Linked DNA regions of Homo sapiens: all the other regions are linked to region 1. Evidence: promoter capture Hi-C in 16 types of primary human blood cells and fetal thymus (Javierre and others, 2016). All regions are on one chromosome and are shown on one strand. The core of a region is centred on a gene start or on the middle of the fragment in contact, and the rest is flanking DNA. Distances in the headings are between cores, read along the strand shown. Region 1 holds the start of TMEM252 (transmembrane protein 252). Region 2 overlaps PIP5K1B (phosphatidylinositol-4-phosphate 5-kinase type 1 beta). Region 3 overlaps PIP5K1B (phosphatidylinositol-4-phosphate 5-kinase type 1 beta). Region 4 overlaps PIP5K1B (phosphatidylinositol-4-phosphate 5-kinase type 1 beta). Region 5 overlaps PIP5K1B (phosphatidylinositol-4-phosphate 5-kinase type 1 beta). Region 6 overlaps PIP5K1B (phosphatidylinositol-4-phosphate 5-kinase type 1 beta). Region 7 overlaps PIP5K1B (phosphatidylinositol-4-phosphate 5-kinase type 1 beta).

Region 1 (3,741 bases), core at 889-3,388:
ATAAGCATCTTATTACATGCAGCGAGAAGAGGCAGTAAAATGGGGGTGTTACGATGTCCATAATTTACTTTCAAACATTTCAGTATACTGTAATATTATGCAGTGTTAGTCAATTTAAGCTATATCCTAAAGGCAATCAGTTACATTTATCAGAAATTCACACTCTAGAGGTAGTCCTCTAACATTTATACAAAAAGAAATCATCACTCTAGAGGCATCTTCTACAATCACTTCATTTCTCTTAATTTTTAATCAAACCCAGAAACTCTGCTGGTTAGTATAACATTGGAAATAAGTTTTGGTTTTCATAATTATTATCTTATTAATTAGCATAAAGGATGCCAAAAGTGGATGCTCATGGGTAAGATTACTTATATTCAAGATACATGGAGTAGCTAAAATATTTTAGATACTTTCTACTCTTGCACGAAGAGGGCAAAATAATTATAGTCTTGTAGCCTGTATCTTGAGAATGATGCCTAGGGTGTTATCCCTAAATGGTCCTGTGGCTAGCCAAGAATTAGGAGGTTTCTTGTTGCCTGATACTGACTATAAGATTAACTGAATCTTTTTTTTCTTGTGGTAAAATATATATGACATAAAATTTACTGTTTTTAAGTGTATAGCTCAGTGGCACTAAATACACTCATATTGCTCTACAACCATCACCTTAAAACTCTCTACTCATTAAACAATAGGTCCCCAGTCTCTCCTTCCACCAGCCCCTGGGACCACTGTTCTACTTTCTGTGTCTGTGAATTTGACTACGCTAAGTACTCATGTAAGTGGAATTATACAATATTTGCCCTTTGTAACTGACTTGTTTCACTTAGCATAATGTTTTCAACTTCATCCAAGTGGTGGCATGTGCCAGGATTTCCTTCCTTTTTAAGGCTAATATTCCATTGCATGTATATACCACATTTTGTTTATCTACTCACCTGTTGATGGACATTTGGGCTATTATGAATAAATGTTGCTACAAGCATTGGTGTACAAACATCCATTTGAATCCCTGCTTTCAGTTCCTTTGTGTATAAACTCAGAATGTAGAATTGCCAGATCAAACAGTAATTCAATATTTAATGTATAGAGGAGTCTCCACACTGTTTTCCACAGTGGTTGCACCATTTTAACATTCCCACCAGCAATGCACAGCGTTCCAATTTATTGACATCCTCACCAACACTAGCTGTTTGGTTTTGTTTTTTGATGATAACTATCCTAATGTATGAGATGGCGAGAAAGAATGAATCTTGCCTCTAGAATATTATCACCTTCCCCTGAAGGAATGTTTTATGCAAGGTGAGATCACAACACCTAAAAGGACAGTAAACTGGGACTTTTCTGAGCTCACAGAGATTCCAGGACTCATTTTATGCCTGCTTCTTCATTTGTTGTGTGGCAGAATTTGGTCTGGGACTTGCTTTCCTTAGAACCTCATAGCCAGGTTATGGGAAGTAACTAACCATCACCTGCCACTAATTAATGACAGCTGCCATGATATAACAAAAGAGCCTGGGTTTCTAAATTGGCTTAGGTGGGTTTTCACTGGGGGTGGTGGTAGGGTTTCTCTGAGATGAGTTGCCCCTGCGTCATGGTTTTCCCCAAAGATGGCGCCACTCTTCCTAATAACAACCCCAGAGTAATTCCCTGACAATAAAGCTTTGGTTCTAGACAGACAGCCCATGGGACATGTAAGTCGCTCCATAGTAGGATCAGAAATTACTCAGATCTTACACAACTCAGCCCATCTCAGCCCTTCTTGGTCCCTCTGCCTGTCAGCACGTACCTGTCTACTGTGGCCACGGGCAGGGCCCCATGAGCAAGGTGTTGTCGGAGCATGTGCCTCAACACTCCTTTGCTTTCAGTCACCTGGCGATAGTTGCTCCAGAAAATTCCACTCAGAAGGATCACAAACCCCAGAGGCAGAAGCAAATAGGCCGCAATCAGGCTCCCCTGACAGTCGAATATGGAGCCCCAGGAAATGAAGAAGGCCCCCAGGCAGACCATCAGGAAACCCATCAGGAGGGCAAGAGCACAGAGAATGAGGCCAGTTCTGTTCTGCATCCTTGCACCTTAGGAACCCAGCACCCTGACCCTGCTGCTCCTCTGCTTCCCTGCTTGCTCCAAGAGAATGAGCTCATTAGCCAGCTTGCAGCTTTATATGCTCTGGGACCCACTGGCCTTTGGACAACTAAATGAAACAGGCACTTAGAAGCTATTCATTAACCATTGAAAGTAAGTGTAATATCCTTGGAGAATTAGCCAAAAAACATAGCATTGTATACTGCAGGCAGGAGTGGCTTCGTGTAGCTGTTTTGTTCTTCAGAGTTGGGTGGGACACTCAGCTGTTCCCAGTTATTTGAACGTACAGCCCTCCTTTGATTAAAAGGCGCTGGTCTCTTAATCCCCATGGAGGGCAATTCCCCACTAAAAGCTGGAGAAGTTAGCACTCTTTAAAGAACGATCTTCTTTGAGGTTTGGTAAGAAATCCCTTCCTGATTCCTTCTCCCTTTTTCTGTACTAAAAAGGCATTTCTTCAAGGCTGTTAACATGTTTGTCTTGCCTCCCTCAATGAATCCCCACTTATTGCCCCCACACTATGATACTGGCATAATTCCAAGACAGAAGTTCAGAGTGTGAACTTCGTGGTTCCTGCTCTGTTGACAAGATCGAAAGAGCCTGAGTGGGAGGGAAAGGAGAGTGCTGGAGAAAAGGACTATAATAGACAGAGCCTCGGGAATTTGGGGGGATTTTGGGCCTGTAATTCCTGCAATCTTTCCCCCTTTCATAAAGTACATATGAAATAGAATTCGTTTTAGAGGATGCTGCTAAAAATGTTCCCTGTCCTCTCCTCCACACCTCTGCTCTATGTAGCATTGCCTCAAAAAATCTTTCCAGAACCAGCCTTCTGTTTCCTGGCTGGAATTTGTTTTCTTTAGCTTGACTGTCTTTGATTGTGGATAGCTTATTTCAGACGTGCTTTATGCCCTGGCTCTGCCCTTTTTTATTTGATAATGTGGCATGTCTCTGCCAAAAGTCTCCTTCCCATAGGAACCCTGGGTTGCTTTTACTCAGGATAGCTTATCTTCAGTTCCTCTTTGCTGCTGTTCCACTCCACTACTCCATTACCATTATTTTCCATTTACTTTCCCAATGAGAGCAGCAGTTTTTTGTGGCGTGCCCTAATAATCCCTCATATAACCTTTAGTCTCACACTCACCATCTCCTTAGCTCTACCTTCATGTTAGGGCTGGGAGACACGGATATTAGAGAGGTACACACTATGGATCAAAAACTATATAAGGCACTTCTCCATTCCAACCCTTAGCCTTTACCTTTCTTAGCTTCAATTTCGACCTTGAACTACCTTGATCTTCTAGTCTTGATATTGTCTTTGTAATCTTAAAACAGCTCTTATTCCCTCCTTCCCCAAACTGTGAGATGGAATATTTCTAAGATGATCCCTAAGGATCCCACCTCCTGATATTCATGTCCTTGTGTAAGTAATCCTCTCCCCTGAGTGTAGGCTGGACCTAGTGACTTCATTCTAATCAATAGAATATGGTAACGGTGATCGGAAGTTACTTCCGTGGAGGCTACACAAGATTGTGGTTTTCATCTTTCTAGCAGACTCTCTCTATTGTCCTCTTGGCTTACGCCCTTTGAAGAAGGAAGCTGCCATATTGGAGAGGCCCATGAGGCAAGGAATTGAGGGCAGGTTCTGGCCAACAGTCA
Region 2 (3,741 bases), core at 555-3,054, 450 kb after region 1:
TACACAAGAACAAGTTCAATAAAACCAGGCATGCTTGGGTTTTAAAAGAAATGATGGCGCCCTTTCACTTCTGCAAATGGTGCTTCTTTTCACAAGCAATGTTTTCCTACAATTTATTACACAAAAGAACATCTAGGTCAATACGAAATCACCACGTATAACAAGAGAACGAATCCTCTAATGTTGAGGCAAAGTAGGGCTCCTTAGTGTTATTCCCAGCGAGGAAATGTTTCCCTTTGACTCAGCCGTGCTCCCTGATGTTTGAATCTTCTGTGTGTTGGCGTTGCTCCCTTGGTAAGTTAGTAGGCCGAGAGGCGCAGAACTGGGTCATGGGAAGAACCCAAATTCAGTGCTGGAGAATCTTGGCTGATTCTCTCCTCAGTTGTCACCAACCAGCTGTGTGATTTGGGAAGGAACCTTTCTGACTGCCTAAGGAGGGAAATAATGCCCACCCTGCCTACCTTACAAGGCTGCTTTGAGGATCATGAGTGACCCTTTAGTGCCTGTCAAATTACCTGTATCAGCTTAATCGAACTGTTAGATAATGCCTAGAAAGATACCCTGATGGGCTACACTGTAAAAGAGTATTTTCTGTGCCAAGTGCATCTTGCATGTATGCTACGTCTTTGTATGCCTGCACAAAAAAAAATTTTTTTTGGGGGGGGGCAGAGTTTTGCTCTTGTTGCCCAGGCTGGAGTGCAATGGTGCGATCTCGGCTCACCGCAACCTCCGCCTCCCAGGTTCAAGCAATTCTCCTGCCTCAGCCTCCCTAGTAGCTGGGATTACAGGCATGTGCCACCACGCCTGGCTAATTTTGTATTTTTAGTAGAGACGGGGTTTCCATGTTGGTCAGGCTGGTCTCAAACTCCCGACCTCAGGTATCTGCCCACCTTGGCCTCCCAAAGTGCTGGGATTACAGGCATGAGCCACTGCACCCGGCCTACCTGCACAAAATTACATAAAACAGGGGAAGTGTTCTTTTGGAATTTTCTGGGTTTTTTTAAGTTTTGCTAAACCTGAGCCAATACTCTGTGTCGCTCCTGGTGTACAAGTGCAACTTCAGGAATCAGCACCGAGTGATGCATGTCTCACAGCAGCTCCCTGAGCCTCCTTGAGCCTGCATTTTATGCTTTTCCATATCCCTGACCTAGCACTGTAATTTCTCACAAGTGCTCTGCAGGGCATCAGTCACCTAAGATGCTACTCCTAGCAATACTGGAGTAGTATCCAAAGTCCTGGCCAGGCATGGTGGCTCATGCCTCTAATCCCAGCACTTTGGGAGTCTGAGGCAGGCAAATCACTTGAGGTCAGGAGTTCGAGACCAGCCTGACCAGGATGGTGAAACCCCATCTCTACTAAAAATAGGAAAATTAGGCAGGCATGGTGGTGCATGTCTGTAGTCCCAGCTACTTAGGAGGCTGAGGTAGGAGAATCACTTGCACCTGGGAGGCGGAGGTTGCAATGAGCCGAGATCATGCCACTGCATTCCCACCTAGGCAACAGAGCATGACCCTGTCTCAAAAAAAAAAAAAAAAAAAAAAAAAAAAAAAAGTCCTGGCTGGGCGCAGTGGCTCACGCCTGTAATCCCAGCACTTTGGGATGCCGAGGCAGGAGCATCAGGAGGTCAGGAGTTCGAGACCATCCTGGCTAACACGGTGAAACCCCATCTGTACTAAAAATACAGAGGAAAAATTAGCCGGGCGTGGTGGCAGGCGCCTGTAGTCCCAGCTACTCGGAAGGCTGGGGCAGGAGAATGGCGTGAACCCGGGAGGCGGAGCTTGCGGTGAGCCGAGATCACGCCACTGCACTCCAGCCTGGGCGACAGAGCCAGACTCCGTCTCCAAAAAAAAAAAAGTCCTCCAGGCCCTGCATGGTCTGGTCTCCCCTGCATCTCCGACCTGCCCCCTCCCTGGGTCTCCCTCTTCCTTGCTGATGCTATTCTAGCCACACTGGCCTCCTTGGTGTTCCTCTCACAGACCAAGCACATCTCTGCCTTGGGACTTTTGTGTTTGCCATTCCTGTCTGTGTATTCTTTTCCACCTATCCCATGCTCCCTCACTTCCTTCAGGTCTCAGCCCAAGTACCTCTTTTTCAGATAGGCTTTTCTTGACCGCCCCCTACGTAAAACAGCAGGTCCCCCACCAACCGTTGTAAAAAGATTTTTTCTCTGAATATCCTAGTTTTTGCATAAACAAATTTTTTTGCACTGAGCAATGCTCCACCCTACCATTGCCCCCGCTTTAAAAAAAATAAGATTGTAGCAGATCACAAAATCCTTACAGAAAAGTTGGTCCACCCCCAACCAAGAAAATGGGGAATTAAATAGGGAAAAAAATACATTTTTGGTCCCATGTTGGATTCATCTGGAACCAGAAATCAGGAAAGCCTTTCAGAAAGAAGCTAAGTAAAATCTCATCTTCATGAGCTAAGGATTCATGCCACTTTCATGTGTCTTTACAAAAACTAGATTTTCACCAGTCACGGAGGTGCAATATTCCTAAGTGAGCCAAAACTCAAATTCAGCTCCATGTGTGGTCCTGCCTAAACTTGAACCCAGGAGCACCCTGTTGTTGTTATTGACCATAAATATAAGTCTCACGTCCATCTCATTGGAATCATGTGTCTTACAAGAGTGAGGGAAGGATACAGAAAGGAAGGAATGAGGGGGTTTTATTGAGAATATTTTTTGTAAAATTCTTTCACTGTTTTTTCCTGAATTTTTTTTTTTTTTTTTTTTGAGATGGAATTTCACTCTTGTCGCCCAGGCTGGAGTGCAGTGGCGCGATCTCGACTCACTGCAACCTCCACCTCCCAGGTTCAAGCGATTCTCCTGCCTCAGCCTCCTAAGTAGCTGGGATTACAGGGACCTGCCACCACGCCCAGCTAATTTTTCGTGTTTTCACTAGAGACGGGGTTTCGCCATGTTGGTCAGGCTGATTTTGAACTCCTGACCTCAGGTGATCCGCCCGCCTCGGCCTCCCAAAGTGCTGGGATTATAGGAGTGAGCCACTGCACCTAGCCAAAATTGTTTAAGTATTCATTAATTTAAAACAGTAATCTATTATATGTTAAATAATGTTTTTATGAATATTATTATATTTTCCAAAACAAAAATAAATTTTGTGAGAAAGGTGGCATTCTTTTATATTTCTGCAAATCCCTAATGTCTGGCTTAATGGAAGAAAAAAGATTCTCACATCTGTTTCTGTATCTGTCTTCTTGATATATATAACACATCATTTCATTTCTAGAAAGCTCCATCGTACATCCATGAAAGGGAATGAGAATAAAAAGGCAAACAACATCTTTGTATTATTAGGAAAATAGTTTGACCTCATGGACCCCCAGAAATGATCCCTACAGAGTTTTTCTCATATTTTAACTTAGTCTCTTCACCTGTTGCAAAACCAAGTGAAGCATAAATTAATTAGAGACAAATAGGCACCTGGAGTCTGTGCTGGTCTCTGCCTCTCATTAATCGTTTCCCTTGAATTCAGTGATCTCAGTTTTCTCATCTATAAAATGAATTATTAAATCAGGTTCATTCTAAATTACAAAGAGATATAGAAATAAGATTTTCCAAGGTGGGAAGATTGCTTGAGGCCAGGAGTTCGAGACCAGCCAAGGCAACACAGTGATACCTCATCTCTACAAAAATTAAAAAAAAAAAAAAATTAGCCATGCTTGGTGGTGCATGCCTGTAGTCCCAGCTACTTGTGAGGCTGAGGCTGGAGGATCCCT
Region 3 (3,741 bases), core at 622-3,121, 430 kb after region 1:
AGAAATTGGAAAACCAGGGTGCATAGAAGTGACATTACTTACTTAACATCACACAGATAGGTAGTAGCAGAATCAAGACCAGAATCTAGTTCCTCAACTCTGAATCCAGTGACTTTTCCATTGACATGTTCTTAAATGTTATAAAGGATGATGGTAACTTTCTAAAATCATTGACTGATAAAATCTAAAATTGTTTAAAGGAGCATGTGTTTTTCCTTAAATTGCTTCTCACTGAAACTCTGTGCCATCCAGAATTATAGCTAGGGTTAATTACATGTTGTCAAGACCAGGCACTACGCCAAGTCTTTTAGATGCGTATTCATTGTGTACTTGTAACAGGATTGGCCTAAGCTTTGATGATTACCACTAGGGTTTGGTTGTTCCTGGCAATTAGTAGGAAATTGTCCTACCCAAGCAATATGCATGCAGTCATCTGAGATAATCTTTCCCACAATATGTGGAAAAGTGTTGGTAAGGCAGAGTAGGTTGTGAATACCAAGATGGATGGAACTTTTGTTCACCCAACTGTGAACTTTATTCCCTCACTATATATCGTATTCCATACACGATGGTGTGTACCCTTTTTCAGGTTTCCATTTTTAGAATTGAAGAAAATGGGCTGTTGCTTTCAAAAATCATGTTCATTTAAATTGTGTTTTTACTCTCTGTTAAGAAATCACATATAAACATATGGATTTGAGCACCCCCTGCGATTTTTCTGGGGTCCCACCAGGATCTGTGGCTGCCTAACTGATATCCACCTCTCCAGCATGTTGCCAGCAGCCACAGTGACTCCAATGGAAGCAGCAACTTCAAAATATTATGCTAAAATTGGCTCCTAATGTTTTCCTCTTGCCTTCATGCAGTAGCATGCCAGAGCCCACATCTTCTTGCTTGCTAGAGTCAAATTTTGCAAGCCAGTTGTTAAGAACAGCGATTTTTATTATTTATGTATTTATTTATTGATTTATTTATTTTATTATACTTTAAGTTCTGGGATACGTATGCAGAACGTGCAGGTTTGTTACATAGGTATACATGTGCCATGGTGGTTTGCTGCACCCCTCAACCCGTCATCTCCATTAGGTAATTCTCCTAATGATAGAGTGCCCCCCACTCCCCGACAGGCCCCAGTGTATGATGTTCCCTTCCCTGTGCCCATATGTTCTCATTATTCAATTCCCACTTACGAGTGAGAACATGCAGTGTTTGGTTTTCTGTTCTTGTGTTAGTTTGCTGAGAATGATGGCTTCCAGCTTCATCAATGTCCCTGCAAAGGACATAAACTCACTCTTTTTTGTGGCTACATAGTATTCCATGGTGTATATGTACCACATTTTCTTTATCTAGTCTATCATTGATGGGCATTTCGGTTGGTTCCAATTATTTGCTATTGTGAATAGTGCTGCAATAAACATACTTGTGCGTGTGTCTTTATAGTAGAATCGTTTATAATCCTTATGGTATATACCCAGTAATGGGATTTCTGGGTCAAATGGTATTTCTAGTTCTAGATCCTTGAGGAACTGCCACACTCTCTTCCACAATGGTTGAACTAGTTTACAGTCCCACCAGCAGTGTAAAAGCATTCCTATTTCTCCACATCCTCTCCAGCATCTGTTGTTTCCTGACATTTTAATGATCGCCATTCTAACTGGCGTGAGATGGTATCTCATTGTGGTTTTGATTTGCATTTCTCTAATGACGTGATGATGAGCTTTTTTTCATGTTTGTTGGCTGCATAAATGTCTTCTTTTGAAAAGTGTCTGTTCATATCCTTTGCCCACTTTTTGATGGGGTTGTTTTTTCTTGTAAATTTGTTTAAGTTCCTTGTAGATTCTGGATATTAGCCCTTTGTTAGATGGATAGATTGCAAAAATTTTCTTCCATTCTGTAGGTTGCCTGTTCACTCTGATGATAGTTTCTTTTGCTATGCAGGAGCTCTTTAGTTTAATTAGATCTCATTTGTCAGTTTTGGCTTTTGTTGCCATTGCTTTTGGTGTTTTAGTCATTAAGTCTTTGCCCATGTCTATGTCCTGAATGGTAATGCCTAGGTTTTCTTCTAGGGTTTTTATTGTTTTAGGTCTTATGTTTAAATCTTTAGTCCATCTTGAGTTAATTTTTGTATAAGGTGTAAGGAAGGGGTCCAGTTTCAGTTTTCTGCATATGGCTAGCCAGTTTTCCCAACACCATTTATTAAATAGGGAATCCTTTCTTCATTGCTTGTTTTTGTCAGGTTTGTCAAAGATCAGATGGTTGTAGATGTGTGGTGTTGTTTCTGAGGCCTCTGTTCTGTTCCATTGGTGTATATATCTGTTTTTGTACCAGTACCATGAAGAACAGCCATTTGATTGTTAATAATGGGCGATCGAGGCGGGTGGATCACCTGAGGTCAGGAGTTCAAGACCAGCCCGGCTAACGTGGTAAAACCCCGTCTCTACAAAAAATACAAAAATTAGCTGGGTGTGGTGGTGTGTGCCTGTAGTCCCAGTTACTTGGGAGCGTAAGGCAGGAGAATCACTTGAACCTGGGAGGCAGAGGTTGTAGTGAGCTAAGATCATACCACTACACTCCATCCTGAGCGACAGAGCAAGCAAGACTTTGTCTGAAAAAATAAAAATATAAGTATAAAAACTTTATGTACATACATATGTGCACATGGGTTTTTTTCCTAAATGCTGGTTGTTAAGCCTTTACTTGTACACAACTCCTTCTGAGCCAGTCAAGTCTATAACATGTGTTTCTTTATATAATTATCTTCAACAATAATACTAATAACTAAAATGTATTGAACACAAGGGACAGATTTTATAACAGTCAGCCTCACTGAATTCTCCCAAATGCTCCAGGGACCAGGAGACAATGAGGAGGGTAAATTCAGGCACCTCCAGCATGAGCAAGGACATCTAATAGGTGCCTTCCGAAGGCAAGCAGATGGTAGACACTTGCACATGTTATTATTTACATCAACCCTGTTGTAAATAACGAGAGTGATTTTTATCACTGTGATAGGGATAAAGAACAAGCTCAGAAAGATAAAGTGACTGCCCAAGCAAGCCCCAGCTAAGTAATGCTGGTTAGAAGGGGAGACCACAAGGCAAGAACTAAAGCCTTCCAGTGCCTGCTCCCGCAACAGCTCAGACGTAATACAACAACCTCATCTGTTGCAGTGAACTCCAGCCTGGGCGACAGAGCGAGACTCCATCTCAAAATAATAAAATAAAATAAAACAAACACATTAACAAGAAAAAAAAATCTAAGGAGAGGCTGTAGATATGTAGATACATCAATGATAAATATTTTGAGAGCATTTTTAGTAATAGCCATTAAGAAATTTTATGTAAATAGGATTTAGATATACCTATGAAAGATAGACATTATCCAAAATAACTAAAGCTTAAATGGGACTCTGAAAATGGATAATTTAGACTTTTTAAGAGGAGGTCAAAAACATAGGAAAAGGGTATATAGTTTCAGTGACAGCTTGTAAACATTAATATTTGTATTTACAAATGGCTAAGCACATTAATACATAACAAGAAGTCAGGTCTATAAACAGTGTAAAATTATGGGGAGCGTATTTGTGGTTCTTAACCAAGGGCCTAATCATTTATTAGTTTACATATATGTGCTTTCTGGAAGGTAGGATTTATTCAGTGTGATGTGGTAAATGGTTACATATCTGACCTAAGGGTGGAATTCAGAGCTCCTGAACACCAGCCAGGCCCCAGCCTCCTAAGC
Region 4 (3,741 bases), core at 747-3,246, 410 kb after region 1:
TGGAGGCATGACTTCCAGCTACAGCACTGATATAGAATATACAGTTTCAGATGATAAGTTTTAGATGATGCTTTTAATGGAAATTTGGTGACATCCATACAAGTTCTCGTCTTCATCTTTTTGCCTTTTCTTTTTCCATGGGATTTTGAGTGAGGATTTTCATCTTCAAAGATGTTAGAGACAGAATGTTCAAACACTTTAAAAATTTAACATTAATTTAAATTTATAAGAAACCTAAAATAGCTATTTCCTCAAGTTGTTATTTCCAACTCTCCAGGTGGACTCCAAATCACTACGTAATCATCGAGAAAAGACTTTTATTAGATATGTTCCTGCTGGGTTTAGAAAATCCTATATCTTCTGTTGATACAGCAAGGTCAGCAGGAATCTTTAATATTTACAAAATGAAAGGAGAACAGCTAGTTGCAAAAACTTCCTAGTGATTCCATTCCCCTAACCCTAATCTCAAGGGAAAGACAGCACAACTGTGTTACCTGCTGTGAACTTTGCAGCTACCTGCCATACCTAGACACCAGTCTAGGGCTACACAGCCCCTAGTAGGATGATGCACTCGTTGATGCTAAACATTGAAGACGACCTCTCCAGACTCTTTGTTCTTTTATGGTTTTTTGTTTTTTGTTTTTTTTTTGAGACAGAGTCTCTGTCACCCAGGCTGGAGTACAGTGGCGTGATCTCAGTTCACTGCAACCTCCACCTCCCGGGTTCAAGCAATTCCCCTACCTCAGCCTCCCGAGTAGCTGGGACTACAGGTGCGTGCCACCACGCCCGGCTAATTTTTTTTTAGTAGAGACGGGGTTTGGGGTTTCAACGTGTTAGCCAGGATGGTCTCGATCTCCTGACCTCTTGGTCTGCCCGCCTCAGCCTCCAAAAGTGCTGGGATTACAGGCATGAGCCACCACGCCCAGCCTGTTCTTTTATGTTTCTTAATCTGCTGACTCCTGCCTTGCAAACAGACCTTCCTACCCCCACCACCTCAGATGGTGGTGGGTAAAGATGCTCATGCGTCTTGCTAAATCATCCCTTAGGACATTAGCTCTCAAACTGCCACTTCTAGTGATCTAACATTGGGCAAGTTACTTGCTCGTCATGTGCCTCAGTTTCCTCATTTGTAAAGTGTGAATTACTATACTACTGCCCCCAGAGTTGTTATAAAGATTAAATGAAATAACAATTAGAAAGCATTTATACCTTGTGGCACATAGTAAGCCCCATAAAACATTTGTTGAAATAAAATAACCAAGTGATTTGAGACACTAATACCTTGCAGCTGCCGCATAAGTCTCACTGTAAAGGGCATGATGTTTTTGACAAAAAGCCATCATGGAGTGCTTTGTTAGAGTCCTTTCAGGAAATGGAAAACACACTTGGAATTTCAAAGGGAATTGGTTACAGAATGTGGGGAGGCTGGAAGACTGAAGGGGGAAATTCCAGAAACTCAGGTAAATAACTGCAGGAGGCAGCTCCCACCATGAGCTCTGCCACGATACCTGCTGCCGCCTTGGAGAAGGGACAGTGGCGGAGGATGCTACCTGAAGAGCTGGGATAGTGCAAGAACATAGCCACCTCCAGAGACACTGCCCTGAAATGGAAGAAAGATAAATGAGAGCAGAAAGCCAGCAGCTTCTGTCCTCCTGCCACCTTCTCATCCAACTCCTGCAATGCCTTGACTGACAGGACCTAGTCAAGAGGCCTATGGGATATCGTTTGCAACTCTGGGCCCCAGCATTGCAAAGTAGAGTTGAGATAGGATAAAAACAACCACAACACATGGAGCAAAAGCTAGATAGACACAGGATCTTTTTTAAAAGAGAGAGAGAGGAAAGGGTCAAAGCTTTACAAAGGTAGTGTGAGTGCAAGAACAGGAATCAATTTAGGCTTTTATAGAAGTAATCATGGAACCAATTTATTCTCATGCCATTGTAATAGTACTATGTAAAGTAGCCATAAATTTTTTAATGATCTGTGCAATTAGAGACTCCAGTATTTACCAATAAGTCTGTCTGACAATCAGTAATGCATTCCCTGGTACTGTGCTGGTTGTAAATACTCATAGAAATGTCTTAGCTAATTCTAGACACATGGGATAGATCTTTAGTTTGAGAATTCCTCAAAGAGGCTTGTAAGCTTGAGGAACCCAAGTGAGACTCCCTCTGATAAGGCAGGTGACACAGTTTGGGAGCAGATAGCCATCACCCATGCCCTTACAAAACATTTCTGCTTTATTACCAATACATCATTTGTGAACCCACCACCCCTGCAACATCTTATCTGAATCTTTCTTAGTCTGGAGCAAACACAGAATGAGGGGAAAATGTGGTCACATTCTTTCATTCTTAGTAAAGAAAGGATTTAGTCACCTTTTCCCAAGTGTCAAGAAATGAAGTCATCAAGCAAATGATACCACATGTTTAGAGAAGCAAAAACCTTCCTTATTCTTCAGTCTCTTGAAAGAAGGATATTCCATTTTAAAAATCAAAACCATTATAGCATTACCAGTGAACCTGAGTGGTGTCACATCTCTCTCCAGTTGTGGCTGAGGCACATGCTGAAAAAGTTGGAACCTGGCTGCGAGTGATGGCTCATGCCTCTAATCCCAGCACTGTGGGAGGTGAGGCAGGAAGATCTCTTGAGCCCAGGAGTTCGAGACCAACCTGGGCAGCTTAGCAAGACCTCATTTCTACAACAACAACAGCAACAACAACAAAAAACACATCTGAGCATGGTGGCACGTGCCTGTAGTCCCAGCTACTTGGGAGGCTAAGATGGGAGGATTGCTTGAATCCAGGAGTTCCAGGTTTCAGTGAGCTGTGATCATGCCACTGCACTCCAGCCTGGGCAACAGAGGCGAGACCTTGCCTCAAAAAAAAAAAGGAACCTGCAGAAGTTTTATAATATGCCTGTTAGTTTAGTTTTTCCTCCCCACCCCCAGAAAAAAAAAAAATAGAAGAAAAAACATGGATTTACATCACATTAGTCTGCACCTGGATTTTGCCAGATGTCTTTTTTCCTTTTTGACAAATTATAGAATTACTTCTGAAGTGATTAGCTTTTCAAATGATCCCTCATATATTTCTGCCAGGGCAGGAAATTGAAGTGAATTTTTCAGATATCTGACATTATATGAAGAATAATTTAGGATTCAGCATTAATTCAAAGAACATTCACATTTTTTGAGGAATTCATGTGAGATAATATTTCTGGGTACTTTTTGTGTGTTACTAAGATTTTTAAATCGATTTAGTTTATGGATAAATCATATTGCCAAAAAAAGTGGGAAAACTGTTGGCCAATTTTTGAATATTTTAACTGACAAAAAAAAAAAGACTTCTTTATCCATTCTTTGCCTCTTAATTCTGGAACTAAAACACTACATCTTTATTTCCCTTGACTTAAAACACTAGTGCTATGTCTCTGGAAGAATGGTTTGCTGGTAGTGGATGTACCTTTGTAGACACTCTTCAATTCTCTGCCCTCCTTCGTGGAGCCTCTAGAGAAATGCTTCTCAGTGTGACTAGCTCCTACATCAGGGTACCTACCTCTAGAAATGGAGCCCTGAAGTCTGCATTTTGGCAAGCTCCTTAAGAAATTCTTACCCACACTAGGATATAAAAGTTCTTTGGAAATAAACTCTTCTCCCCTCTCTGTTCTTTCTGAGTAGTGAAACAGCACCTGTCTGTGGTTCAGCTGAGACACAGCTGGACTCTCTGAAGAAATTAAGAG
Region 5 (3,741 bases), core at 764-3,263, 390 kb after region 1:
TTAAGGTCCAGGACAGATCCCTGTAGAGATTATCTCCACTACAGGGTAATTTTAACCATTCACTCCCTCTTCTGGCTCCACACCTCATCCTTCTATCTGCTCATTCTCATATATCATAGAAACAAACCTCCTCAACGATCTGTCTCTCTTCAGTTCCTGGTGTATCTTTTTCCTCCTTCACTGTCACCCTATTGGAGATGAGAGTTGGATGTACTTGCTGTCTCACTTTTTTTATTTCTTGTCACTATTCAGTGTTCTCCAGTGGCTTTTGATCCCACCACTCTACCAAAATGTTCTTTTTGAAGTAATCAACAATCATTGCTCAAGCCATTGAACAACTTTCAGTTTTTTTTGTTTTTGTTTTTGTTTTTGTTTTTTTGAGATGGAGTCTCACTCTGTTGCCCAGGCTGGAGTACAGTGGCACTATCTCAGCTCACTGCAACCTCTGCCTCCCAGGTTCAAGTGATTCTCCTGCCTCAGCCTCCAGAGTAACTGGGACCACAGGCATGCGCCACCACACCCAGCTAATGTTTGTATTTTTAGTAGAGACAGGGTTTTGCCATGTTGGCCAGGCTGGTCTTGAACTCCTGACCTCAAGTGATCCACCCACCTTGGCCTCCCAAAGTGCTGGGATTACAGGTGTGAGCCACCGCACCCAGCCTCTTTCAGTCTTCTTAAAACTCTCCAGCATGTGAGACCACTGATAGCAGTTCTCTGTGAAATAACGCTCTTCGCTTGTCTTTCGTAACTCAGGACTTCCCTGGTTGCCTTCCAGCCTCTCTTCTCCTCCTTGGTATCCTTTGGAAGCTTTTCATCCCTGCTTACTCTTATTGTGGTTGCTCCTCAGGGTCCAGGCTCTGACTCGGTCTCTTCTTATACAGCACTCTGGGTAATTCCCTGTTCTCCCAAGGGTTCAGTTACCATCTGTGTACTTGCAACTTACTCCCCACACTTCTAGCAATTCCCCTTGCCTGTCCACTCCCCAAACTTAAGCATCCACTAGATTCCACAAGCTCAGCATGCCCAAAATTGAATTTAGCCACTTACCACCCCAGAGTCTGCCTCTCTACCTGGGTCCACGTCTTATGGAAGACCACCACAATCCACCCAATTACCCAGCCAGAATGCTGCCATCATCCCTTGACCCCTTCCTTCTGCTTACCACCCACGTGCAGTTACTCAGCAACACCTATCAGTCCTCACTCTGCAGTATCAGGATTGCAGCCCCTTCTCTCACAGTACCTCTCCTGATTCAGCCACTGTGTTTTTTGGTTTGCAGGTTTTATTATTATTTTTTTTTTTGCATAAAGTTGTGGCCCCAAACAGGTCTCTTTGCCTCCCATCATGTACCCATTCAATCCAATTTCCACACACACACACTGCAGCTAGAGGAATCAGTTTAAAATATAAATCTGCTCTTGCTGATTTCTGTTAAAACCCTTCCATGCTAATAATAATAATAATAATAATGCTAAAGGAAATAAACGTCCATGGATTCCCTGGTGCCCAAAGTCCTTAACTTTCACTTAACACATTTCCTGGCACACAGTAGACACTCAATGGTTATTTGATGAATAATGCAATGAATGAATGGAATTTTTATCTAACACCACCATTTCAAAGGGTAATTAAATTATTAGAAAAGTAGACACTTGAGTTAACTTTAAGATGTTCCATCAACCATGGTTAATTTAAAGCCCTTAATGCCTAAAGGCATACTCCCCTCCCACCAAGAAAATAGTACCTGGTCTTCAAGTTTCTTTTTTGAAGTCAGTGTTTTTTAACCTTTTTAAATCCCTTCATCCCACCCACAAGTGAGTCATGCTGCCGGTGTAATAATGTCTACAAAATCCTATAATATTTCCTGGAAATATTAGCCACCATTATGTTGAAACTTCACTGAAATTCTCCATACGAATAATTTGTCTAAAGTACTAAAGCTTAGTTTCCTGAATAGAATATAAGAGTTAAATTAATTTGTTAGAGAAAATTAACTGTTCTAAAACTTCAGAACAATAATGCATTCATGAACAAACACTCGTGCACCTATTATGTATCTAGCACTACACTAAGCACTGATGATATAGAAAGCTTTTTAAATATTGATTAGTTCCTCCCTCAATAATTTAATAGTCTCTTTTGAGCCGGAGATTGAAACATGTGACAGATCTGTAATGAAACAATTGCTAATATTTCTGCATATGCTACTATGGGTACGCGGAGAGAAATAAGAGAAAAAAAGACCAATTCTTCCAAAAGAGAGCTCACAGAGAAAAAGATATTTCAACTAAATCCTGAAAATGTAACCCAGAGTTCATTAAGAAGAGAGACAGGAAGGGCATCTCAAGGAGAAAGAACAGCATGTGCAAAGGCCTAAGGGCAGAATGAACATGGTAGGTTCCAATATGGCAGAAGGGTGAGCTGAAAAGTGAACATGGAGGCAGTCGAGTGGCAGAATGCAAGGCTAGAAATGGACACAGGATACCTACTGCCAGCCATGGTTGAGCCAAAGACAAATCTAGGCGTTTCTGCCACACAAAAGGAAGCAACCAGCCACCCAAACCAGCTCTCAATGTTACCCAGTCAAAAGAGATCCTGAGAATTAAATTTCTGCAAAATCCAAGCTCTTATCTGCTGAGTGAGATCATTCCTTTAAGGAAGAAACTCACCACTTGAGACAAAAGTGAACTCTTTGTTGTGGTGCTATGTGGTCTTGGCAGAGGTTTGTTTTCCGGTCTTCTCTGCTCCTCATTATACGTGATGCTGATAAAGAACAAAGAGTTACTTCTTTTTCCAGTCTTTTGGCCCTCACTCCATGAAATGCCATGAGTATAGGTCTCCTGAGTATCTTTTCCTCATTACACGGCTCTCACCCTGATCGCATTTCCTTGGTACTGCCGAAAACCTTTTGATCATTGCTGTTTCTTCGTTTAGAGAAATAACATTGACCTAAGAACTATGATGTAGAAAAGCAGTTCTCAAACCTTTTGGTCTCAGGGCCACATTACACCCTTAAAAATTATTGAGGACACCAAAGAGCTTTTATTTATGTGGGTGATAGCTATCTATATTTCACATATTAGAAATTAAAATTGAGAAAAATTTAAAAATATTTATTAATTCTTACCAGTTAACAAAAAAAATTGCGTGTTAACATCAGTCAATTTTTAACATAAATAATTACAAAATATAATTATATTTTCCACAAATAATTTAGTGAGAAAAGTGGAATTGTTTTACCTTTTTGTTTGAAATCCTTAACGTCTGGCTTAATAGAAGATAAGTTGGAGTCTCACATCTGCTTCTGAATTCAATATGTGGTGACATCACAGGTCATGTAACATCTAGAAAACTCTACACATATGAGAGAATGAAAGTGAAAAAGGCAAATAATGTCTTATGATGATGATGAAAATAATTTTAACATCACAGATCTTCTGAAAGGGTCTCAGAGACCCCTTAGTTTCCACCCCACATCTGAGATCCTCTGATTTAGAAGTTTTAAAATACAGCTGGGCACAGTGGCTCATGCCTGTAATCCTAGCACTTTGGGAGGCCAAGGCAGGCAGATCACCTGAGGTCAGGAGTTCGAAACCAGCCTGACCAACATGGAGAAACCCCGTCTCTACTAAAAATACAAAATTAGCCAGGCATGGTGGCGCATGCCTGTAATCCCAGCTACTCAGGAAGCTGAGGCAGGAGAATTGCTTGAACCTGGGAGGCGGAGGTTGCAGTGAGCCG
Region 6 (3,741 bases), core at 663-3,162, 370 kb after region 1:
TTATCTAAGCATTTCAAAATAGCACGCTAAACTTTAATTTTGAAAAGTTTATACAATAAAAATATGTAAAAGTAGACCAAATATTGTAATGAATCCACATATACTCTGTGCTCTATTTTTAACTCATGGCCAATCTAGGTTTTTTTGTTTGTTTGTTTGTTTGTTTAACTGCCTCTCTTCCCATATAATTTGAAACACATCCAAGACATCACATCATTTTACTCATATGTACTTTAGTAGGAATCCCTAAAAGCTAAGGACTCTTTAAAAAAAAAAAAAACTACAATACCATTATAATGGATTAAAAATATTAATAATTCTTACTAATCATCAAATGTCAGTGTTCAAATTTCTAATTGTTTCAGAAACAACTTTTTGTGGTTTGGATCAGGATTTAAATAGAATCTACTTGCTAAGTTCCTTGTCACTCTGATTTTTTCATTTTGAAAGTATTTGTTGAAGATATTGGTTTGTTTATCCCAGAGCATCTGGATTTTGCTGATTACACCACATTGTTTCATTTAACACACTCCTCTCTTGTGCGTTTTTTCTGTAAATGGATTGTAGGATCCTACAGGTTGAGTCAGTCAGATTTAGGTCTGACTTCATATTTGATGTCTCCCCTCATCAGGAGGCACATCATGTCAGAATGCCTTTCTTTCTGCAATGTTAGTACCTGTTGATGACCACTGATTAGACTCATTCATTCATCAGGAGTGGTAAAATGGGGATGTTCTAATTTTATTATATGTCTGCTAGACTGCACAAAGGAATTTTAAACAAAAGAGTACCTGTCACATAGTAGGTGCGCAATAAAATACGTATTGAATGGGTTAATTTCCATAAGAACCCCTATGACAAGGGAGCAGAGGACAGGAAAACTAAGAAGGCCTTGAGATGTGTTCCATCTTAGGGCCAGCACCAAGCGTTCTTGGATGATTAAAGAGCCTTCACAGTTGACCAAGCCTGTGACATGCTGTTCTTGCAAAGGCTTCCTAAAGAAAAATGTGATAGTCTTACTAGACTCAAAGCTCAGCCTAATTTATAGCAAAACAACTTTGCCTTTTATCTGCCATTTAGCTGTATGCCTACTAAACAGTAAATCAAAAGAATCTCTATAAATATCAGCTTGATTTTTGCCCTTGACACAGTGTATATAAAATACCTATGGTGTGGGTAGGTTTGAAAGCACTGTAGGCTTTTATCTTTATTTTTCTGACAACACAGAGCACATAATCACAGTAAATGTTTTTAGTGCCAAAAATTTGTTCATGGGCATTGTAATCATGATGCACAGGTATCAAGTTCTTATATTTAAGATACAGGGTGTAGTGTTTTACATTCTTTATTGCTGAATATTTTGGTTTTCACTTACTTATACATGTGGAAAGCAGTATAACAAATATTCATTCCTACTGTGTTCAGAGCACACAGCAAAATGCACTAAGTCAAACCAGTCTTTGTTGAGAAATGAAGTCTTGTGTGTATGATACAAAGAATATAGGTGTAACCTGAGGTAGAATTTTATATGACAGAGGGACACTAATAATGTGCTTGGGTCTTCAGAGGGGAGACATATCCCAATAGTTTGTTGAAATCATTAGTAAATTTGCATGGAGTGGGGACAGGCTTTGAAAAAACAGTAGGATTTGAAAAGATGGTAAGGACCATCTAGAAGAAACGACATGAGCAGAAGCATCAGAGTTTACATCTTCAGAGCACATTCAGGGGTAAAGAGCTCCAGTTAGACTAGCCTGGCAAATGTCTCTAGCCAGGCATTAAGTAACAAAAAGACATTGGCTAGGGCCATATTAGTGAGGACTTTCTATGTCAAATTGAAGCACTGGCACCAAGCAGTGGTGAGAGACTGAAGGCTTTGAGTAGGGATGTGATGTGACCTGGTCAAGCACAGATGTCAGGAATGGGTTTGTGAGGAAAGAATGGGAAACTGGGCCAGGCATGGTGGCTCACGCCTGTAATCCCAGCACTTTGGGAGGCTGAGGTAGGTGGATCACTTGAGGTCAGGAGTTCGAGACCAGCCTGACCAACATGGAGAAACCTTGTCTCTATTAAAAATACAAAATTAACTGGTCATGGCGGCACACGCCTGTAATCCCAGCTACTTGGGAGGCTGAGGCAGGAACATTGCTTGAACCCGGGAAGCGGAGGTTGCAGTGAGCCGAGAACATGCCATTGCACTCCAGCCTGGGCAACAAGAGCAAAACTCCATCTCAAATAAAAAAAAAAAAAAAAAGAATGGGAAACTGAAATTAATTCATTATCATTAGAGAGAAGGAACGTTTTGATAATAGAAGCTGCAGGATTGGGTGACTCAGTGAAGGAAAAGTAGCCATGAAGTATGAAATCGCATTAGAATGATTTCAAATAAAAGAGGGAAGTGAGGAAAAAGAACTGCTTTGGAGTGAGGTAAGAATTTAGGGTTATAGCATGGCCATGTGTAGACATTTAGATGGTCATGGTGGCTCATGCCTGTAATCCCAGCACTTTAGGAGGCCGAGGTGGTTGGATCGCTTGAGCCCAGGAGTTCAAGACCAGCCTGGGCAGCAAGGCAAAACCCCATCTCCACAAAAAATTAGTCAGGTGTGGTGGCATGTGCCTGTAGTTCCAGCCACTCGGGAGGCTGAGATGAGAGGATCACTTGAGCCCAAAAGGTCAAGGCTGCAGTGAGTCATGTTTGCACCACTGCCTCCAGCCTGGGTGATGGAGTGAGACTCTGTTTCAAAAAAATATTTTTTTAATTTAAAAAAGAAGTTTAGAGATGTTCTGAAGGAAATATATTGGGCTGCAGCTTAGGAATGAAGTCAGATTAAATGCAACAATTTAGGAATTTTCTGTAGAAAGATGGTAATTGGAATCTACCTTTAAGAAGATCTCAAATCTATCCACTTCTCCCTCGAGCTCCCCAGCTGCCCCTACTCATTCAAGTATTACCCTCTCTTACCTGGACTGCTGAAATACCCCCCAGTCGAAAGTAGGTACTTCCTGTGGGATCTTCCCACAGCTCTCTGATTTTTCCCTCCAGGCCTTATTACAATGTGTAATTCGGGCTTGTTTAATGTTGAGTATGGAATAATTATCTGTTGTTTTATCCCTGAAGATCCATCAACTTCCACAGTGCGTGGCACTCAAACATTTTTTTTTCCAACAAAAGAGTCAATGAATGTAAGTACTAGAAAGTAGAAAAAACAGAGAGCTTTGGGTGAACATCTTTAGGGCACAGGAAGAAAAAGTGGAAAAGTCAAATAGACAAAGAACCAAGAGAAGCCAGGGCACAATAGCTAAGGGAGAGGGGAGATTCAAGGTGGGCTGGTCATAGGGATCGATTCTGCAGGTGGAGGAATAACATGAATAGCTGACATTAATTGAGTGCTTTTTGTGTGCCTAAGACTTGGCACGGATTAACTCAGTTAATCTTCACAGTAACTTTGGTAGGAATTATTTGGTAGGAATCCCTATTATAGAGATAATACAGGTGAGAATAGATACCAGAAATGTTAAATACTTTGCCCAAAAACAAGCAAGTGGGGGAGCCATGAGTCAAACCAGGCCATCTGGTTCCAGAGCAAGGAGACTGAACCACCCTGCAGCCACACCAGCTCCTGCTAGCAGTAAGACAGAAGATAGTTTGCAGTGTGATGTGGTGTTAAAGATGTAAAAGCAAAAGGAGGACCAGCTGCTCTTTGTAGCCTTTAGTCATGAAGAGAGGATGGCAATGCCTAT
Region 7 (3,741 bases), core at 706-3,205, 330 kb after region 1:
TACGGCAAGGGTAAAACATTATCCTAAATGATAAGCAAACATATATGTCAAAGATTCATATAAAATATTGCCTCATATCATCACTCAATGTTACAGGTTTGACAAACTAGCCAACTGCCTGCATTTCTAGGCATAATGACATAAACTTATCCAAGAGTCCATCTTATACCAGGGATTCCCAATCCCTGGGCTGTGGACAAGTACCAGTCCATGGCTTGTTAGGAAACCAGCAGCACAGCAGGAGGTGAGCAGAGGGCAAGCAAGTATTACAAGGGCGAGCTCCGCCTCCTGTCAGATCACTGGCAGCATTAGATTCTCATAGGAGCACAAACCCTGTAGTGAACTGTGCATACAAGGGATCTAGGTTGTTTGCTCCTTATGAGAATGTAATGCCCGATGATCTGAGATGGAACAGTTTCATCCCAAAACCATCCCCCCATTTCCACTGTCTGTGGAAAAATTGTCTTCCACAAAACTGGTCCCTGGTGCCAAAAAGGTTGGGGACCACTGTCTTATATCATGTGGGTCAGCATACAACAGCCCATGGGACAGGCCCCGCTAACTGCCCGTTTTTGTAAATAAGGTTTAATTGGAATAAAGCCACATCCATTCATTTACAAATTGTCTGCGGCTGCTATCTACAATGGCTGCAGAGTTGAGTAATTGCTACAGAGACTGTATGGCCCACAGAGCTCGAAATATTATCTGGCCCTTTATAGAAAAAGATTGCCAAGGCTGGCTGCAGTGGCTCACGCCCGTAATCCCAGCACTTTGGGAGGCCGAGGTGGGAAGATCACATGAGCTCAAGAGTTTGAAAGCAGCCTGGGCAATATAGTGAGACCTCATCTCTTTATATTTAATAAAAATAAAAATAAATAAAAAAGAAAAAGATTACCAACTCCTGATCTATACAAACATTCTGCACCAGTTTTTATGTACATGTGGGTAGAAGACAAAGCTGCCAGCTTAGTCTTCTTGGGAGAAAATGAGAAGTGACTGCTGCTGGGCAAGCCATAATATGATGCTCCTTCAAATCAAAACTCTTTATGTCTTTGTTCAGCGTGTATTTGGTGAGGATGGGGAGAAACTGATTTCCTATTACTAAAAGCCATATACCTCTTCCTTTAGCTCAAAGGATTTATTGCATGCACTGGATATTATACAATATTCTACTTTATTTGAAGTTATCTTCAAGCACGGTTTTCCAGTATGGTAATAACTTCTTGGATGGTTTAATGTTTATATAACCGATGATGTCACATGTTCCCAGTAAATGACATCCCGGAATGCACTGTTTGGTTGGGGAATTTAAGCTGTCTTCAGATGCTGACTTTTACAGATTGGCTGTCAGCTGGTTGGTCTCTGAAGATGGTGCAGCCTCGTCTTATACAATGCAGTTCATGTGTACCCATCACAGAACTGCTCAGCAACAGGAGGTTGGCACCAGCAAGGAATGTGTCTTTTGTTTTGCTTTGTTTTGTTTTTCCATTCATGAGCACTCTCTAATTTGGCAAAAAAGAGGACCAATTTCTGTCTCTCTCTCTCTAGTTACGTAAAGAATTGTATGTGGAAACCAAGGGATATCCACCTTGGCTGAATTGGCAGAGGCAATTAATAATACCTTAAGGCCGCTTTTACAGACTGCTGTGTACGAAGGTCCAACTTGAAGACTGGGTACCATCAGTAGTTTGTTACTGGATTGTAGTGGCATTCACCCAACTGTAGTGCCACTTAAGCTTTCCTAATGTCTGCACATCAAGACAAAGCACCCTTCATTTATCCTGTCATACAGAGGGTAAGGTCATGTTTGTTGAATACAAGTGAGGGCATTTAGCATCCTTTAGCGACACTGACCACTATCACCCAGGAGTTGCGTAAGTACTAGTTTTGTCAAAAGTCCTCAGAGCCACTATTGATGGTTTGGTTACAATTTGAAATAAACAAAGCTCACTAAATGGAAAATGCTGCTCTAGAGGCAAGAAAGCTCTGAGTCTCAGCTCCAAAACTGGTCCCCTTGTGTTGTCTTTGAGATGCTAAATTAGTTTTACCCCATTGCTTACCACCACATCTCTCAGTCCAGTGCCACCAAAACTAGCACTTGGTCATCAGGCTCTAAAACCCCATAAACAAAGCTGTGTTGTTATTAGTACATAGAGAGGAGAACACCAACTGACCAAAGCTTCTGTAAGTGAAATTCTACCCACCAGCCCCTGTGGTGTGAAGGCCTCATGTGGAAGTAATTGGGATATTTGGGCAGGGAGAAACCCCTGAAACTTGTAACAGAATCCTGAAAAGGAGGAATAACAGAGGAACGTCAAGTCTAAGTTAAGCCATTCCTATCTGCTTATGACTTTTCTGCTGTTCTGATGTGAGTCTAATCTCCCAATCTTGTTTGTTCCTGATCAGTTTGGGCCATTGTTTTCCCTCCCTGGACTATGATTTATCTGCTAAATGGGGAATTCCAGATGGCGGCTAATGCTTCCTCAAGCTTCAACATTGTGTAATTCTGAACATACGTTGCCATTAAGATATATGTATTTTTAGACTAAGACAAGCAGTAGCTTTGGCCTTAAAAATGAACTTGCCTCAGAAGAGGTGAATATCAGAATGCCAGAGCTGGTCTGTGATTGAACTTTAACTGCTTCTTAGTGAATAAGTGGGGAAGAGGACAGAGAAACTTCTGTTCTTTATTTGAAATTTCTTTCTCCTTTTTTGGAGCTAAAAATGCCCTGATGTGATAGGGATTGTAACGTGTGCTTGCTTAATTGTTTAGGTTCTTACTTGGCAAAATAAATTTGGAAATCCAAGGTTGGATTCCAAACTTTTGTTGTCGAAATTTTACTGGCCCATGGGATCCAAGCATCTAGAACCACTGCTCAAAACCCCATAGCTGAGATTTCCAAAGCTTCAACTTACGCCAAGACAAGAAAGTCAGTTGTCGGGTGTTTTTTTTTTTTTTCCACACCCTACATAAGTGCATTGAAGAAATATAAGGTAAATCTTAAACTGTGAGGAGTTCTACTCTTTTTCTGACTTCATTTTTGCTAAGTCTGGATGCTGAGCACAGTTACTCAACAGGTAACTCCAGTCTCAAGCAAGGAAAGCCTGTGGACTTCAGGAGGCAAACGTTGATTGCGGTCATTGTGTTTGAATGTTGGCAGTTCTGCCATGGTGGAAGTTGCTAAGCACTTGGTACCTGTGCTGTGGAGATTCTGTGCTGAACGCCTGTGGGCTGGCACCCACATCTACACACAGTAAATGTGCCAGCGTGGGGCCTCAGAGAACCAAGGTTGTTGCCTGCTGGCTGACCTTCACTGGACTTGCTGTTTTGTTCTCTGCACTCGTGCTCCCCTGACAAATATCCGGGCCCAGCAGGGGCCAGCGATCTCATTAATTTGCATTTCCTTCACTAGAGCTTCATTCATGTCAAGCTGGTATTTGTTATTCATTGGAACAGCTTAAATATGCAGAGGTAAACAAACCTTCTGCTGTGGTGCTGAGCACGGAGGGCTCAGTTTGGGGGAAGAGGAATCAGTTTATGGCTTTTAACCTCTAACTTTTTAAATTTATTTAATTTTGTGAATGATAATACACAGCAAGGCTTGTCCTGTTCTTAAAAGGAATACTGTGAAGAGTTCCTTTTGTCCCTGTGCCTTTTTTTCAGTGTCCAGCTCCAGTTATCACTGTTACTTGTGGCTGTTTTTTCCTTCAAGGATTTTTTATGTATATGCATGCCAAAAG

Evidence for each region. The method cuts DNA at HindIII sites, captures the fragments that hold promoters and counts their contacts. A CHiCAGO score of 5 or more calls a contact.
Region 2: a contact is called between a fragment that was not itself captured here and the fragment with the promoter of TMEM252 in region 1, in 8 of 17 cell types (monocytes, M1 macrophages, endothelial precursors and 5 more). The highest score is 9.4, in monocytes.
Region 3: a contact is called between a fragment that was not itself captured here and the fragment with the promoter of TMEM252 in region 1, in 9 of 17 cell types (endothelial precursors, neutrophils, total B cells and 6 more). The highest score is 12.9, in endothelial precursors.
Region 4: a fragment that was not itself captured here is called in contact with the fragment with the promoter of TMEM252 in region 1 in 4 of 17 cell types (endothelial precursors, naive B cells, total B cells and 1 more); the score reaches 8.1 in endothelial precursors.
Region 5: a contact is called between a fragment that was not itself captured here and the fragment with the promoter of TMEM252 in region 1, in 4 of 17 cell types (total B cells, endothelial precursors, naive B cells and 1 more). The highest score is 10.6, in total B cells.
Region 6: a fragment that was not itself captured here is called in contact with the fragment with the promoter of TMEM252 in region 1 in 2 of 17 cell types (total B cells and naive B cells); the score reaches 5.6 in total B cells.
Region 7: a contact is called between a fragment that was not itself captured here and the fragment with the promoter of TMEM252 in region 1, in 1 of 17 cell types (total B cells). The highest score is 5.5, in total B cells.

What each region holds. Positions count from the first base shown.
Region 1 is chr9:68,538,745-68,542,485 of GRCh38, forward strand. TMEM252 (transmembrane protein 252) reads right to left here and starts at 2,139. Exons shown (of 2, transcript NM_153237.2): 1 at 1,793-2,139. The coding sequence starts at 2,070. TMEM252-DT (TMEM252 divergent transcript) reads left to right here and starts at 2,281. Exons shown (of 5, transcript NR_187592.1): 1 at 2,281-2,486; 2 at 3,634-3,741. The HindIII fragment of the contact is 3,743 bases long and covers 1,664-3,741 here.
Region 2 is chr9:68,991,321-68,995,061 of GRCh38, forward strand. All of the region lies in intron 15 of PIP5K1B (phosphatidylinositol-4-phosphate 5-kinase type 1 beta), which reads left to right. Among named protein-coding and RNA genes, the nearest start is that of PRKACG, 21 kb to the right of the region's middle. The HindIII fragment of the contact is 5,656 bases long and covers 1-3,741 here.
Region 3 is chr9:68,970,037-68,973,777 of GRCh38, forward strand. All of the region lies in intron 14 of PIP5K1B (phosphatidylinositol-4-phosphate 5-kinase type 1 beta), which reads left to right. All of the region lies in intron 1 of LOC101927069 (a long non-coding RNA gene), which reads right to left. Among named protein-coding and RNA genes, the nearest start is that of PRKACG, 42 kb to the right of the region's middle. The HindIII fragment of the contact is 3,045 bases long and covers 350-3,394 here.
Region 4 is chr9:68,945,766-68,949,506 of GRCh38, forward strand. All of the region lies in intron 14 of PIP5K1B (phosphatidylinositol-4-phosphate 5-kinase type 1 beta), which reads left to right. Among named protein-coding and RNA genes, the nearest start is that of PRKACG, 66 kb to the right of the region's middle. RefSeq lists an enhancer at 972-1,648. The HindIII fragment of the contact is 293 bases long and covers 1,851-2,143 here.
Region 5 is chr9:68,929,309-68,933,049 of GRCh38, forward strand. The region is part of intron 12 of PIP5K1B (phosphatidylinositol-4-phosphate 5-kinase type 1 beta); the gene reads left to right. Among named protein-coding and RNA genes, the nearest start is that of PRKACG, 83 kb to the right of the region's middle. RefSeq lists an enhancer at 2,723-3,741. The HindIII fragment of the contact is 151 bases long and covers 1,939-2,089 here.
Region 6 is chr9:68,909,141-68,912,881 of GRCh38, forward strand. The region is part of intron 8 of PIP5K1B (phosphatidylinositol-4-phosphate 5-kinase type 1 beta); the gene reads left to right. Among named protein-coding and RNA genes, the nearest start is that of PRKACG, 100 kb to the right of the region's middle. The HindIII fragment of the contact is 6,425 bases long and covers 1-3,741 here.
Region 7 is chr9:68,868,963-68,872,703 of GRCh38, forward strand. The region is part of intron 5 of PIP5K1B (phosphatidylinositol-4-phosphate 5-kinase type 1 beta); the gene reads left to right. Among named protein-coding and RNA genes, the nearest start is that of PABIR1, 91 kb to the left of the region's middle. RefSeq lists an enhancer at 3,180-3,741. The HindIII fragment of the contact is 443 bases long and covers 1,735-2,177 here.